Regions from separate parts of the Homo sapiens genome. Here region 1 is linked to region 2. Evidence: promoter capture Hi-C in human tissues and cell types (Jung and others, 2019). All regions are on one chromosome and are shown on one strand. The core of a region is centred on a gene start or on the middle of the fragment in contact, and the rest is flanking DNA. Distances in the headings are between cores, read along the strand shown. Region 1 overlaps LOC105369309 (a long non-coding RNA gene). Region 2 holds the start of APLNR (apelin receptor).

What was found. The method cuts DNA at HindIII sites, captures the fragments that hold promoters and counts their contacts. A contact is called where the count stands out against the background at its distance.
Region 1: a fragment that was not itself captured here is called in contact with the fragment with the promoter of APLNR in region 2 in 2 of the 25 tissues and cell types used here (H1 embryonic stem cells and hippocampus).

What each region holds. Positions count from the first base shown.
Region 1 is chr11:57,200,100-57,206,385 of GRCh38, reverse strand. The region is part of intron 2 of LOC105369309 (a long non-coding RNA gene); the gene reads left to right. Among named protein-coding and RNA genes, the nearest start is that of LRRC55, 21 kb to the right of the region's middle. RefSeq lists a silencer at 977-1,271. The HindIII fragment of the contact is 3,449 bases long and covers 1,925-5,373 here.
Region 2 is chr11:57,236,000-57,242,529 of GRCh38, reverse strand. It overlaps APLNR (apelin receptor), which reads left to right and starts at 5,280. Exons shown (of 1, transcript NM_005161.6): 1 at 5,280-6,530. The coding sequence starts at 5,526. RefSeq lists enhancers at 1-175, 1,198-1,964, 5,006-5,638. The HindIII fragment of the contact is 13,017 bases long and covers 1-6,530 here.

The sequences.
Region 1 (6,286 bases), core at 2,400-4,899, 35 kb after region 2:
AGTCATTCACATGGCAAGTCTCTTTCACCCTCTGGACCCCATTTCCTAGGTGTAAACAGAGAAGCTGGAACCTGGTGAATCCTAAAGGCCCTTTAGAACAATATATTCTGTGATCCAAACTTAAGATACTTTCCTGACTTCAAGAAACTTATGGTCTGGGGTTGAATGACCGAATGAGACGGCACATTTAATAAATGCTGGTTGACTCTCAGAAAGCATCAACTGGGGGTAGGGGGTGGGAAGGAACCATAACTCTCCATTTCCTGGAAGATGAACTTTCTGCGTGCAGAGAAGGGAGGGATTGCCATCGTGTGCTCACCTCCTGCTGGAACTGAGGTTGGATTCTTCATTAATCTCAGTACTGAGTAGGGTCAGCCTCTCCAGCTGGTGGGCAGGCAACACAACAGGCTACAGGTGCTCTCCCCATGGGAGAGTCCGGCATCTTGCTCTTGGAGCCTTTCTTATAAAGGGGTGATTAGGCATCCCCGGAGAGTCATTGGAGGCTCTTGTCCACAGGATCATAAATGAATCCTATCGCAAATTCATTCCCATCCCTTCCTGAAGGCAGGGATGCAACAGGGAAAGGTGTCAGCTTGAAGTGGTAGACGTGGGTTAGATTCCTGGCCCTGCCAGTGAGTGACTTGTGTGACCCTGGGGGACAAATCATTCTTTCTCCTGGATCTTGGTTTCCTCATCTATAAAATGATAGAGTCTTCCCAAGTGATAGTTGTGTTCTAGGCACTGGATGCTGGTGATAGGAGATGAAGAAGGCTATTCTGGCTGAGGAGACAGGTGTGGAAACACATTCTCTCAGTGTAGTAGTATACAATGCTAGTGGGATGCCCAGGAGGCATAGAAATGCAGATTTAGGAACCTTAGTCCAGCAGGGGTGATACAGGAAGGCTTCCTGAAGGAGGAGGCCCATTTACACTTGAATGATCTGTGCAAGTCAGTGGGTGGAGAAGGTGGGGGAAAAGGCACTTTAAGACATTTCCAAAGAAGAATCTATCTAGTCATCTTGTCTTTCCACAGTACAGACTTCAGCTCTCCTCCTAATCTGATGCTCTGGAGCCATTGCCCCGGGCTGCCTGCTGGCTGGGAGGGCAGCCAGCTCAGAGCGCTCTAGGGTGGACTTCTGAGCACCCTCTGCTGGAATGAACTCTGAGCATAGCCATAGCAATTGGCTAAGTCTCAAGCTTGCCTTGGGCAGAGCTTTCCAGCAGTCAGCAGGATGTCTCCTCGGGAGCCTGACAGTCTTAGATCAGATCTGTTTTAGTCTTGGTCTCTGCCAGGGCTTTTGGAAAAGGTGCCATCCTCTTCTTAGGAGCTTCCTAAGGGCAGAACATCCAGTCCCTCATCTTGAAAAGGTTTATTGAGTGTAGACTATGGGATGAGTAGGAATGAGAGAAAGCAATGTCATCCCTGAACGCACTCAGAAATGGACAGGAATGCTCTGTAGGGAAGGCAATGGTCTTATGGGAAAGTCTACCCAGGGAATCTGAGCTAGCCTGGTGAGTTCCCAGGAGGATTTCTAAGCAGAGATGCCTGAGGTGAAATCTAAAGGAAGGGAAGAAATGGACAAGTTGAAGAAGGGAGTGGGATAGAGAGGAAGCAGATCAGCATTCTAGGCAAAGAAATTGCATGAACAAAGATTGAGGCTTGGGAGGCTTGTCTATTAAGGAAGCGAAAGGCCAAGGGACTTGTGTACATTGAGGAAGGGAGGGTGGTGAGACATGGTGCTGAGGGGTGGGCTGGGTTAGCCGTGAGGGTCTCACAAGCTGCACTATTGTTTACCCTAATTGCAATGGAACTCCATACAAGCAGCAGGCTAACATGATCTTATATATATATATATATATATTTTTTTTTTTTTTTTGAGACAGGGTCTCACTCTGTTGCTCAGGCTGGAGTGCAGTGGCATGAGCATGGCTCACTGCAGCCCTGACCTCCTGGGCTCAAGTCATCTTCCTGCCTCAGCCTCTTGAGTAGCTGGGACTACACACAAACGCCCCCATGCCTGGATAATTTAAATTTTTTTTTTTTGGTAGAGCTGGGATCTTGCTATGTTGTCCCGGGTGGTCTCAAACTCCTACGCTCAAGTAATCCTCCTGCTTCAGCCTCTCAAAGTTCTGGGATTGATTACAGGCGTGAGCCATTGTGCCTAGCTGATTTGTGTTTTGAAAAGAAACTTCACACTGGTAGTCTCCAGCATAGAGATGAGGGAGGGGCGGCAGATGTTGCTTGACCAGTTAGGAGGCTATTGCAGTGGTCCAGGTGAGAGCAGGCAGCCTGATTGAGTAGGTGGCAATGGAGCTGTCGAGATGGGGTCTGCTGGGTTACAGTGCATGCAGGTGATCAGGGAGAGGGCATGTCAAGATGTGTTCCAGTTTCTGAGATAACAGAGCTCTGGACTGAGAGATCATCTAGTCCGCCCCTCATTTAACTCCCCAAGGAAACTGAGGCTTAGAAATGGGAAGGGACTTTCCCATGCTGGCAGAGCAGGGACAGTATTAGAGCCAAATCCTGTCCATGCTCATCCTGTTCTTTTATGGTAGAAAGCTGAAATCGTAGGGCAGGAAGTAACCTTAGACATCAACTTGCCTAATTCTAACATTTTATAGATAAGAAAACTGAGGCCTCAAGGGATGAAGCTTTAGTGGCCAAAGGCCACCCAGGGAGCTAATTAATTAATCAGTTGAATGGCCTAAGCACATATAAACATGGCTCTGCTGACCCCTAGATAGTGGGACATGTGTTTGTTCAGGAGGGAGATGACTTGGCAGACGTCCCTCCGAAGGCTTTCCCAAGCATCCTTGTGTTGCTGCCTCCTCACTCAGCTGGCTGCCTGGGGTTAGGGAATCCAGATGTCTGGGGCTACAGAAGCCAGCTGGATTTTCCCATGTCATGGGTTCCCAGAGTTTGGGCTCAATAGTTCAGTAGCCATGGGAAGGGGGGTGAAAGGCAGGGAAGGAATGCCAAGCTGTTCTTTCGGCAAATTCCCCAGCTGCTGAGGTTAGAAAAAGGGTTGATGTCCTCTGGTTTCTGGATATCCTCCTTCTGGCAGGTCAGAGCCCTAAATCTAAGGCCAGAGCTTGCACATTGCTACCTTGCATCAAAATACAGGGACCGTGCTCTTTAGAACCAAATGTTGTGACGGGGTCTGACAGATGTTGTCAAATATTGTGCTGTTTCCAGATGAACAACAGCTCATTTGAGAGACGTATTAGTTTGGTGGCAGTATGTTGGAATTTTCATTCTTTAGAAAAACAAGCAGAATATTTGAAATTGGGATTACATTGGAAAATCCCAGAACATATTTTTGGCAGCTGTCTGAGTAGCCCATCATCTGGGTGACCTGGCCTTGTCTCTGAGGAATCACTCAGAGACCTAGCTCTCTGCACCTGTCCCCCTTGGCCCCTCAGGAACATTCAGGCAAGTGGGGAAAGTGGCATCAACTTTCCTGGAGGCTCAGGTGGCTCGGAAGACTGTGGTTTGTGGAAAAGCACAGGGTCTTTGGAATGATACATCCCTGGGGCTGGAGCTGGGGGGCACAGTTGTGTCCTGGCCTTACCACTTACTATGTGGGTGACATCGGTATTTTCTTCTCTGATCCCCAGTTTCTCATTCTGTTAAGTGGGAATGAGGATCCCTATTTCACGTTACCATTGTGAGTATGAAATGAGAGAATCGGAAAAACACACTTAATATGTTGTCTGGCATTGAAAAAAGCATTCAGTAGATTTAAATTGTTGTTTGTTCTCACTCCAGGATCCTGAAATCAACCAAGGCTGAGTCAGATGGATTTCGATCAATGGAACCCTTCCTCTCCAGCTCTGGCCACTCCTGGGTGCCCCTTGGGGTTCACTGTCATGGCAACGGGTCTGTGGAGTGGTGTGGAAGCCGATCGGGGAAGCTAGGCAGCCAGAACGCTGCCTGGCCTGCCGGCGCCACAGCCAAGGAGGGCGGCCACCTGATTAATGCCTGCCTGATCCATTGGCCTCATCTCAGGCCACCCTGGTAGAAGCTTCTTGCTCAGGGAGGGATGGAGCGTCACTCCTTGGGATGTGCCAGGACCCTGGTCAGTGGGCACAGTTACAGGTGCCGCAGAGTCTTAGAACTGCCCAAGCAAAATATCAGAGCTGAAAGGGACCCTGGAGATTTGGTATTCCAGGCGCCTCTCTTTATGGCTGAACAAAGAATACATGGGTAACGAATGCTTACAGTGTGCCCAACACAGTATGAAGCTCTTTCCCCACAGGTTAATTTCTACAATAACCCCGTGGAATAAGTATAATTATCCCCATCAGGGAGGTAGAAACCAGGGCTCAGAGATATGAAATATTTTGTTCATGACACACGACGTATATTTGCACCCAGGACTTTCCTGTTCCTATGTTCTTTCTACCGTCTCACTTTACTGATTGTTTGTCCAGTGCTCTGGAACTTACCTATCTCATCCCTGGCTGTATTTCCTATGCTTGCACAGTGCCTCACGTGTCTTAGGGTTTTGGTAAAAGATTGTGGAATAAATGAATTGCTGTGGTTAATCTTGAACTGTTTTTGCAAGTATGATCCTAAAGATGGGTCAGGGAAGCATATGCATGTTGAAGGGAGGGCCAATTATCAGACTCTAAAGATGAGAAAGGGAGGACTAAGACCCTAAAGATGAAAATCTCCCCTGCACCTCCCAGACCCTCCATTGCAGGCTATTCTTTCAAAATACCCTTTGTTCCAGTCACACTGGATTCTGTCGTGAGCATCCACTCTTCCTTCCCCTCTGTGCTGTCTCTCCTGCTTTCCCTCCACCTGGAATGGCTCATTTCCATCTTTACTGAAGAGCTTATACCCATCTTTAAATTTCAGATGTCCCCTTCTCTGTAAAGTTTGGTCTCTCACTTCTCTAAATTCATATTGTACTTGCAGATCTCTTTCTCGTGTCCTTGATTGCATTCTTCATTGTAACACGTCTTCTTGTGACTGTGGAACTCCTCCCCATTAGACCATGGGCAACTGGAGGGCCCTGGCAGTGTCACATCCTGGCATCATCCGGGGCATCTAGCATGCTGGCACACACATCAGTAGTAATGAATGTCTAATTGAATGGAATTGACTTGGGGCAGAGTACTGATACACTGGGATTGGGCTGGATTGGTCAAGGAGTAGCGCTAGAGTTAGGCAGAGATGAGGGTGGGCAGAAGGGGTGGGCCTCTATCTGCTCCATTTCCCTGAAAGCGGCCCTCTCCAGGGACCTCTCTGACCTCCGCTGACCTTCACTAGGGCTGTTTTCTCATTCTCTTGGATCAGGCTGAGAAAAACAGGAAGAATCATTAAGAGACAGAGCCTTCCGAGCCAGCGAAATTATTGCTGATTCTTTTTGCAGGCACCAAAAAGAATTTGTTTGTGCGTTGTGACGAAGAGTGGGCCTTTCCTGCTGGCCCCCAGGAGAAGCCTCTACCAACCTCCTGGATCCACCCCAGGCACCGTGCCCAGCCCCATTTACCTCTCTTTTTCTCCCTTCCATAGTTAGAGTATCTACTATTTTTTCATAATTAAAAAACAGAATCGGAGGATCCCTCATTGTATCCAAAATTTCTCCCTGAGAGATCATTTGCCCCATTGCTACTCAAAGTGTGGTCCATGGGCCAGTAATGCTGGAGGTTTGTTAGAAACGCAACTTCCAGGCCTTCCTTCCCAGCCTACTGGTTTGGAATATGTACCTTAACAGGATCCCCGGGAAATTGTTATGCACATTCAATTTTGAGAAGTGCTGCTATAACCCACTTACATTTTTTAAATTTTAAAATAGGAGGTGAAATACCAACCCCAGAGAGGGAAATTGATTTGCTAACTAGTGTCATTATTAATTTGGTTAAACAAACATTTACTGAAAACCTGCTACACATCCAGCCCTATGCTGGGCACGGTGGATAAAACATGAATCAATAATCTCTGATCTCTTTGGTTTTTAGTAATTCTTCATGTACCTAAACATTGCCTTGCCTCACGCCAGGGCCTCGGCAAGTGTTTGTTGAGGGACTATGTCTCTTGAATTAAAGCCTAGGGCTTCCTCTACATTACTACAGCTGCCTTCTATAATTATCAGCCTCCTGGAGTAAATCGTAGCACTTTTAGCCAGAAATAAATAAATTCTTCAAGGAGGAAATCAGAGTGGGCTGCATCGTTGGTTTTGCCAACTCTTGACAAATCCCAAGACTCTAATAATGAGATAGGGCTCATGCATCCAAAACTCCACATATCACAAATGGTAGAAGAGGAGGATCTTTAT
Region 2 (6,530 bases), core at 4,031-6,530:
CAAGTTATATCCCTCCTGTGTCCCTGCCCTCCCTTCCCCTTTCCCTCAGATAACACCACCAGCTGTTAGGGACACAGCTGTGGCTGCCTCTCGGGAAGGAGAGAAAAAGGCCCTGTTGCCCTGGGTGAGTTCCCAAGCTGTGGAGTTCAAAGCAGACCTGTGAAGTGAGGGGGCTGGAGCAGAGAGCTAGGAGGGAGGAGGTGAGAAGTCAGGAAGAGCACAGAAAGGCAGTACTTCCACTTTGATGTCCCCAGCCCACAGCTTTGGGTAGGGTCTGGGTGAGGTCCCAGCAGAGGGGTTCAGCTTTCCCCCTTCATCCCAAACTCTTAGAGAGATCCAATTAAGCACCCGTCCCTGTACTGCAAGCAGTGTGTTTATTCAGATCTCTGATCCCACTACACACAAGCAAGCACACTCTTCTACGCACCTGATGTACATTCCTTGGGTGAATGTGTGCATTCAGTGCACGCTCATGCCTACAACACACAAACATGCATACTCTTCTATACACGTTAATGCATGAACCCAATGCACATCATAGCCCACTATGCACAAGCAAGCACACTGTTCTACATGCATGAATGCATGCACCCAATGCACATCCTACCTCACTATGCACAAGCAAGCACACTATTCTACATCCATGAATGCATGCACCCAGTGCACACTCATATCCCCCTGCACACACAAGTTCAGCCTGCTCACAAGCACCTACAGACTTCACATCCAAGTGACCTCGTGGCACACAGAAAACTTGCATTCACAAAGCACACATAGTCAGCATGTCCATGGGCACAGGCCAAGTCAGGCTCTGCTTTTTAGGCCAGGCACAAACCTGGTGGTGGGGTGGGTGAGGAATATTGAACCACTGACTCCAGAGGTCTCCCAGAAGTCTGGGCTCTCCTCAAAGGGCACTAGCAGGTCTGGAGTGCTTTTCTGCCAGGTGTCATTCATCTCGGTCTCATCACAATGCCCTGAAGAAATCACCCAGGAGAGAGAGGGAAGTTCCCCAGGAAACCTGTGCAGGCCTCTCCAGGGCAGGCCAGCTCTGGGCACCCTGGCCAACAGGCTTGCCTTAGCTATTGGTTTGCCAGATAGCTCAGAGTAGAATTTCCTGGATCACTTTAGCAAAAGTTGCCTTGTTAATGCAGTAGAGCAGCTCTGGGGTGAAGATCCAAGTCTTACACCCTTCTCCTGAGTGTGTTTCTATTGCTTTAATTCAACAGACTTTTACCAGGTGCCAAGTAGGGTGGGGGGCAGAAATGAAAAGAAGATATCTGTCCCAGGCCTTGTATATGTCTAGTCTGTGAGGCCCAGGACCCATATACTTCTGAGCCCCGGGACACACAAGTTTCATCTTCAGCTACTGGTCCTATTTTCCAGTCTTTCTTCTGTGTGGAATGGTGCAATGCGGAACAGGGACAGATCAGATCAGGCAGGATAAGGAGTGAGCTGGCTAATTCTGCTCACTTCAGGCTGTCATTGCAGGGGGCACTCAGGCCATCTGGCTACAGCTGGCTCCTGGTTGGAGGCCGGATCTTATCAGCACTCTACCCTCTCTGGTCCCAAACGGTGGCCTCTTCCCAGCCCTGGCCCCCAATTCCCTCCCCTCTCAATGAGTCTGGTAACTCTAGTGAGATTAACTGCTCTTTACTCCCTCTAGGGCAGACATCCTGGAGGTCGGCAGATGAAAGCGATGGATCCATATCCTTTCCCACAGGGGTCTCCAGGCTCCTGTCTGGCTCAGCATTCCAGTGGGAACAGCTGAGGGGAGGGAGACAGGGACCTGATTTCAGGGACGCTTCAAGCTTGCTAGCTCCCTTCTCTCTGTATTTCTAGCTGCAAAGGGCACAGACATCTGCATCTTTCTGGGAGAATCATGGGAGAACTGGGATCACTAGGCGTCTCAAACTTGGTCTTTATCCTGGAATGTCCCAAGCAGTAATGTTTACTCGTAAAAGGGCCATCTATTATGACCTGACCTGAGCCAAGCTGGTCCCTGCACAACTCCAAGGTCCCCTTTGATAGGTAAAGATAGCTTACCACTGAAGAAGTCTGAGGTAGCCAAAGGTTAGCTATTTCCACCCAGGATATAATGTCAGGATATAATGAAACTATTATATCAGGATATGATGAATGAATCATGATATGATGAATGAATGTCAGGATATAATGAAAACCATTCTGCCATCTGCGCAGAACTTCTATTAGCCAAAAATGCAGGAGCAAGAGGCCCCAAGCAATTCCTACCCTGTGTACTGTGAGATGGATGGAGCCCCAGCTCTGGATCCTATTGGGTGTCCCAGCCCCCACTGTACAGAATGCCAAGATTCCAGGGGCAGAGTCCTGTTAGCTTTCTAGCTGGCACCAGGCAACCAGGAATTCTCTTTGGCAATGGCTAGAGCGAGGGTGGTTTCTGGATCAAGTCTATGGTGCTAACCCTAAGTGTACAGATTATTGCCTGGCAGGATTCTTATACCCTGTCTAATCAATGTGAGGTGTGTCTCTAAATAGTCAATCTATTTAAAATCTCACCCGGTAGAGCTTATTTTAAGGTAAATTACAGGTATCCTGGCATCGCCCTACATTTCTCTAATGCTTAACAGATGACACACCCCTCAGTTTAAAAAGGATTGGGCGTTTTTCTTTGGGAGCATAGTGGTTTAGTCCATGGGCTCGAGACAGCTTTGGTTCAAATTCTGGCTCTGACAATTACTGCTGGGTGATCTTGGCTAAACTGCTTCACCTCTGTGTGCCTCAGTTTCCTCATCTGTAAATTGAGGCTAATGAGAGCACCTGCCTCCTAATGTCATTTTGATGATTAAAAGAGATACTAATAAATATATGTAGAATGTATAAAATGTTTAGAAGACTGCCTGGCACACAATAAGTGGGCAACATGTAGTCCTCATGAGAAACACCAACATATTCATTACTCCACATTGCATTTAGGTGAAGGTCACAGGATCTTTCTAATCTCTCTCTGCAGCCTTCTCTCCTGTATCTCCCCACTGCACTCTAAGGCTTTTTCTATCTTTGCATTTTTTGTTTCCTCCTCCTGCCCCATCCTCTTGGTTCTTCTCCTGCCTTCTATTCTTGGCAAGCTCCTGTTTAAAGAACACAAACTCGGGGGCCAAAGACATGTTTTACTTATCATGGTCTGTGCTTTTTTTTGAAATGAAAATTGATTTCCAAAATTTACAAATATGAAAATTTCTTACAAAAATCCATAATTTGAAATTATCTTGGAAAAATCCTAAGACACAGTCATGCTGGGGTCCAGCTTTCTGCGTGGCAACCAGAGACTAGAGCTGAAGAGGCCTCCCTATGATGGAATGGGCACCCTCCAGTTTGCCACAGTCTTTACCATTCTCTGTTGTCTCAAACTACACTCTTGGCCTGTTTTTTTTTTTTTTTTTTGCAGGTATTTGAGTTTGAGTTCCTTGATCTCTGCATATGATTTTCTGATCCACTCTCCCTCCAGAAAATGGATTCCAGCTTTTGTAGTAACTTAAGACAAATATATATCGTGAGACAGGGTCTTGGCTGTGTTATTCAGGCTAGTCTTGAACTCCTGGGCTCAAGCAGTCTTCCTGCCTTGGCCTCCCAAAGTGCTGGGATTATAGGCATGAGCCACCTTGCCTGGCCAATTCCAGCTTTTGTAAGTCTTTTGCCTTGGAAGTGGCTAAGGCTCAGCTCCTGCTTTTGTTCCATCTCACTATTACCCAACGTCAGGTGGCTTCCCCAACTCTTCAAGGTTGTGGAAAGGGTGCGTATTTTTTAAAAAAAATCTTACGTCGTGCATCTTCCTTCCTTCCTAGAGGTCCTGGAGAGGTGATGAGCTGGGGCAAAGTGAGCGTCTACGGAACTTTCCCCACAGTATCCTCCAGTGACTGAGTCTTTCTCTAGAGACCCCCCTCCTCTAGCTCAACTTCCTGACCCCCTGTGGTCTTACAGAAACCTCTTGGTCCATGGAGGATAGTAAAAACCTGAGAACTGAAATGTATCCATGTTCTCACCACGTAGTAATTCTTACACTTGTTCTTCCATCTATGGATTCCCCTTTTCACTCACCTCCTACATCATCCATCCACTTACTCACTCAACAGCCATTCACCTGGCTGGGCGTGGTGGCTCATGCCTGTAATTTCAGCACTTTGGGAGGCCGAGGTGGGTGGATCATCTGAGGTCAGGAGTTTGAGACTAGCCTGGTCAATCCCCATCTCTACTAAAAATACAAAAAAATTAGCCTGCAATCCCAGCTACTAGGGAGGCTGAGGCGGGAGAATCGCTTGAACCCAGGAGGCAGAAGTTGCAGTGAGCCTAGACCAGCCTGGGCAACAAGAGTGAAACTCTGTCTCAACAAACAAACAAACAAACAAAACAGCCATTCACCTACGACATGCCAGGTACTGTATTATGTTCGTGTTTGGAGAAGAAGAAAAGCAAACAATCAACTGTAGCATAATTCACTTTATTACCTTGGGCAAAACATTGACCTTGTTGGGCCTTTGTTTCCTACAGATTTAATGACTTGTTTAGAGATAATTTTGTCCTGGGTTTCTTCCATCCTGTGACTGCCCTCAACCTTCTAAAGCATCCTGTGCCTTCCGCAAACTGCAAACTGCAGTCTACACTAGTGTAGGGGTATTTCTCTAGAAACCACAAAAGTTCTCAGAGGGAGGGTCAAAGCCAAGGGGTAGAGAAAGATGAAGCGAGAGGCAAAGTGGGAGAAGACCCTCCTGTGACACCTGGTCTGGGTGGGGGCTGGGGGTGCAGGAAGGGAGCCGAGGGGGCCAGACCTGCCTGCCAGGAGGACCTGCCAGATGCCCTGCCCATCCTGCGAAATCTTACACCCTCCTTGCTCCCTACCAGCCCTGGCTCCAGCTCAAGCTGGATTGCAATCTGCATAATGTGTCCCATTTAGATTGGATGGAAGGGGGTGAGAACAGGAGGGCGGAGAGCACTGAGGAGGGAGTGCCCTAAAGGGCAGGCAGGAAGTGGTGGCCAGAGGAAAGTGGAGGGATAGGGGCTGGGGTGAAGGTGGGTGGCAGCCAGAAAGGAGAGGCGGGGCCAGGAAAGCCGACTTGCAAAACCACAGATAATGTTCAGCCCAGCACAGTAGGGGTCAATTTGGTCCACTTGCTCAGTGACAAAAAGAAAAAAAAAGTGGGCTGTCACTAAAGATTTTGACTCACAAGAGAGGGGCTGGTCTGGAGGTGGGAGGAGGGAGTGACGAGTCAAGGAGGAGACAGGGACGCAGGAGGGTGCAAGGAAGTGTCTTAACTGAGACGGGGGTAAGGCAAGAGAGGGTGGAGGAAATTCTGCAGGAGACAGGCTTCCTCCAGGGTCTGGAGAACCCAGAGGCAGCTCCTCCTGAGTGCTGGGAAGGACTCTGGGCATCTTCAGCCCTTCTTACTCTCTGAGGCTCAAGCCAGAAATTCAGGCTGCTTGCAGAGTGGGTGACAGAGCCACGGAGCTGGTGTCCCTGGGACCCTCTGCCCGTCTTCTCTCCACTCCCCAGCATGGAGGAAGGTGGTGATTTTGACAACTACTATGGGGCAGACAACCAGTCTGAGTGTGAGTACACAGACTGGAAATCCTCGGGGGCCCTCATCCCTGCCATCTACATGTTGGTCTTCCTCCTGGGCACCACGGGCAACGGTCTGGTGCTCTGGACCGTGTTTCGGAGCAGCCGGGAGAAGAGGCGCTCAGCTGATATCTTCATTGCTAGCCTGGCGGTGGCTGACCTGACCTTCGTGGTGACGCTGCCCCTGTGGGCTACCTACACGTACCGGGACTATGACTGGCCCTTTGGGACCTTCTTCTGCAAGCTCAGCAGCTACCTCATCTTCGTCAACATGTACGCCAGCGTCTTCTGCCTCACCGGCCTCAGCTTCGACCGCTACCTGGCCATCGTGAGGCCAGTGGCCAATGCTCGGCTGAGGCTGCGGGTCAGCGGGGCCGTGGCCACGGCAGTTCTTTGGGTGCTGGCCGCCCTCCTGGCCATGCCTGTCATGGTGTTACGCACCACCGGGGACTTGGAGAACACCACTAAGGTGCAGTGCTACATGGACTACTCCATGGTGGCCACTGTGAGCTCAGAGTGGGCCTGGGAGGTGGGCCTTGGGGTCTCGTCCACCACCGTGGGCTTTGTGGTGCCCTTCACCATCATGCTGACCTGTTACTTCTTCATCGCCCAAACCATCGCTGGCCACTTCCGCAAGGAACGCATCGAGGGCCTGCGGAAGCGGCGCCGGCTGCTCAGCATCATCGTGGTGCTGGTGGTGACCTTTGCCCTGTGCTGGATGCCCTACCACCTGGTGAAGACGCTGTACATGCTGGGCAGCCTGCTGCACTGGCCCTGTGACTTTGACCTCTTCCTCATGAACATCTTCCCCTACTGCACCTGCATCAGCTACGTCAACAGCTGCCTCAACCCCTTCCTCTATGCCTTTTTCGACCCCCGCTTCCGCCAGGCCTGCACCTCCATGCTCTGCTGTGGCCAGAGCAGGTGCGCAGGCACCTCC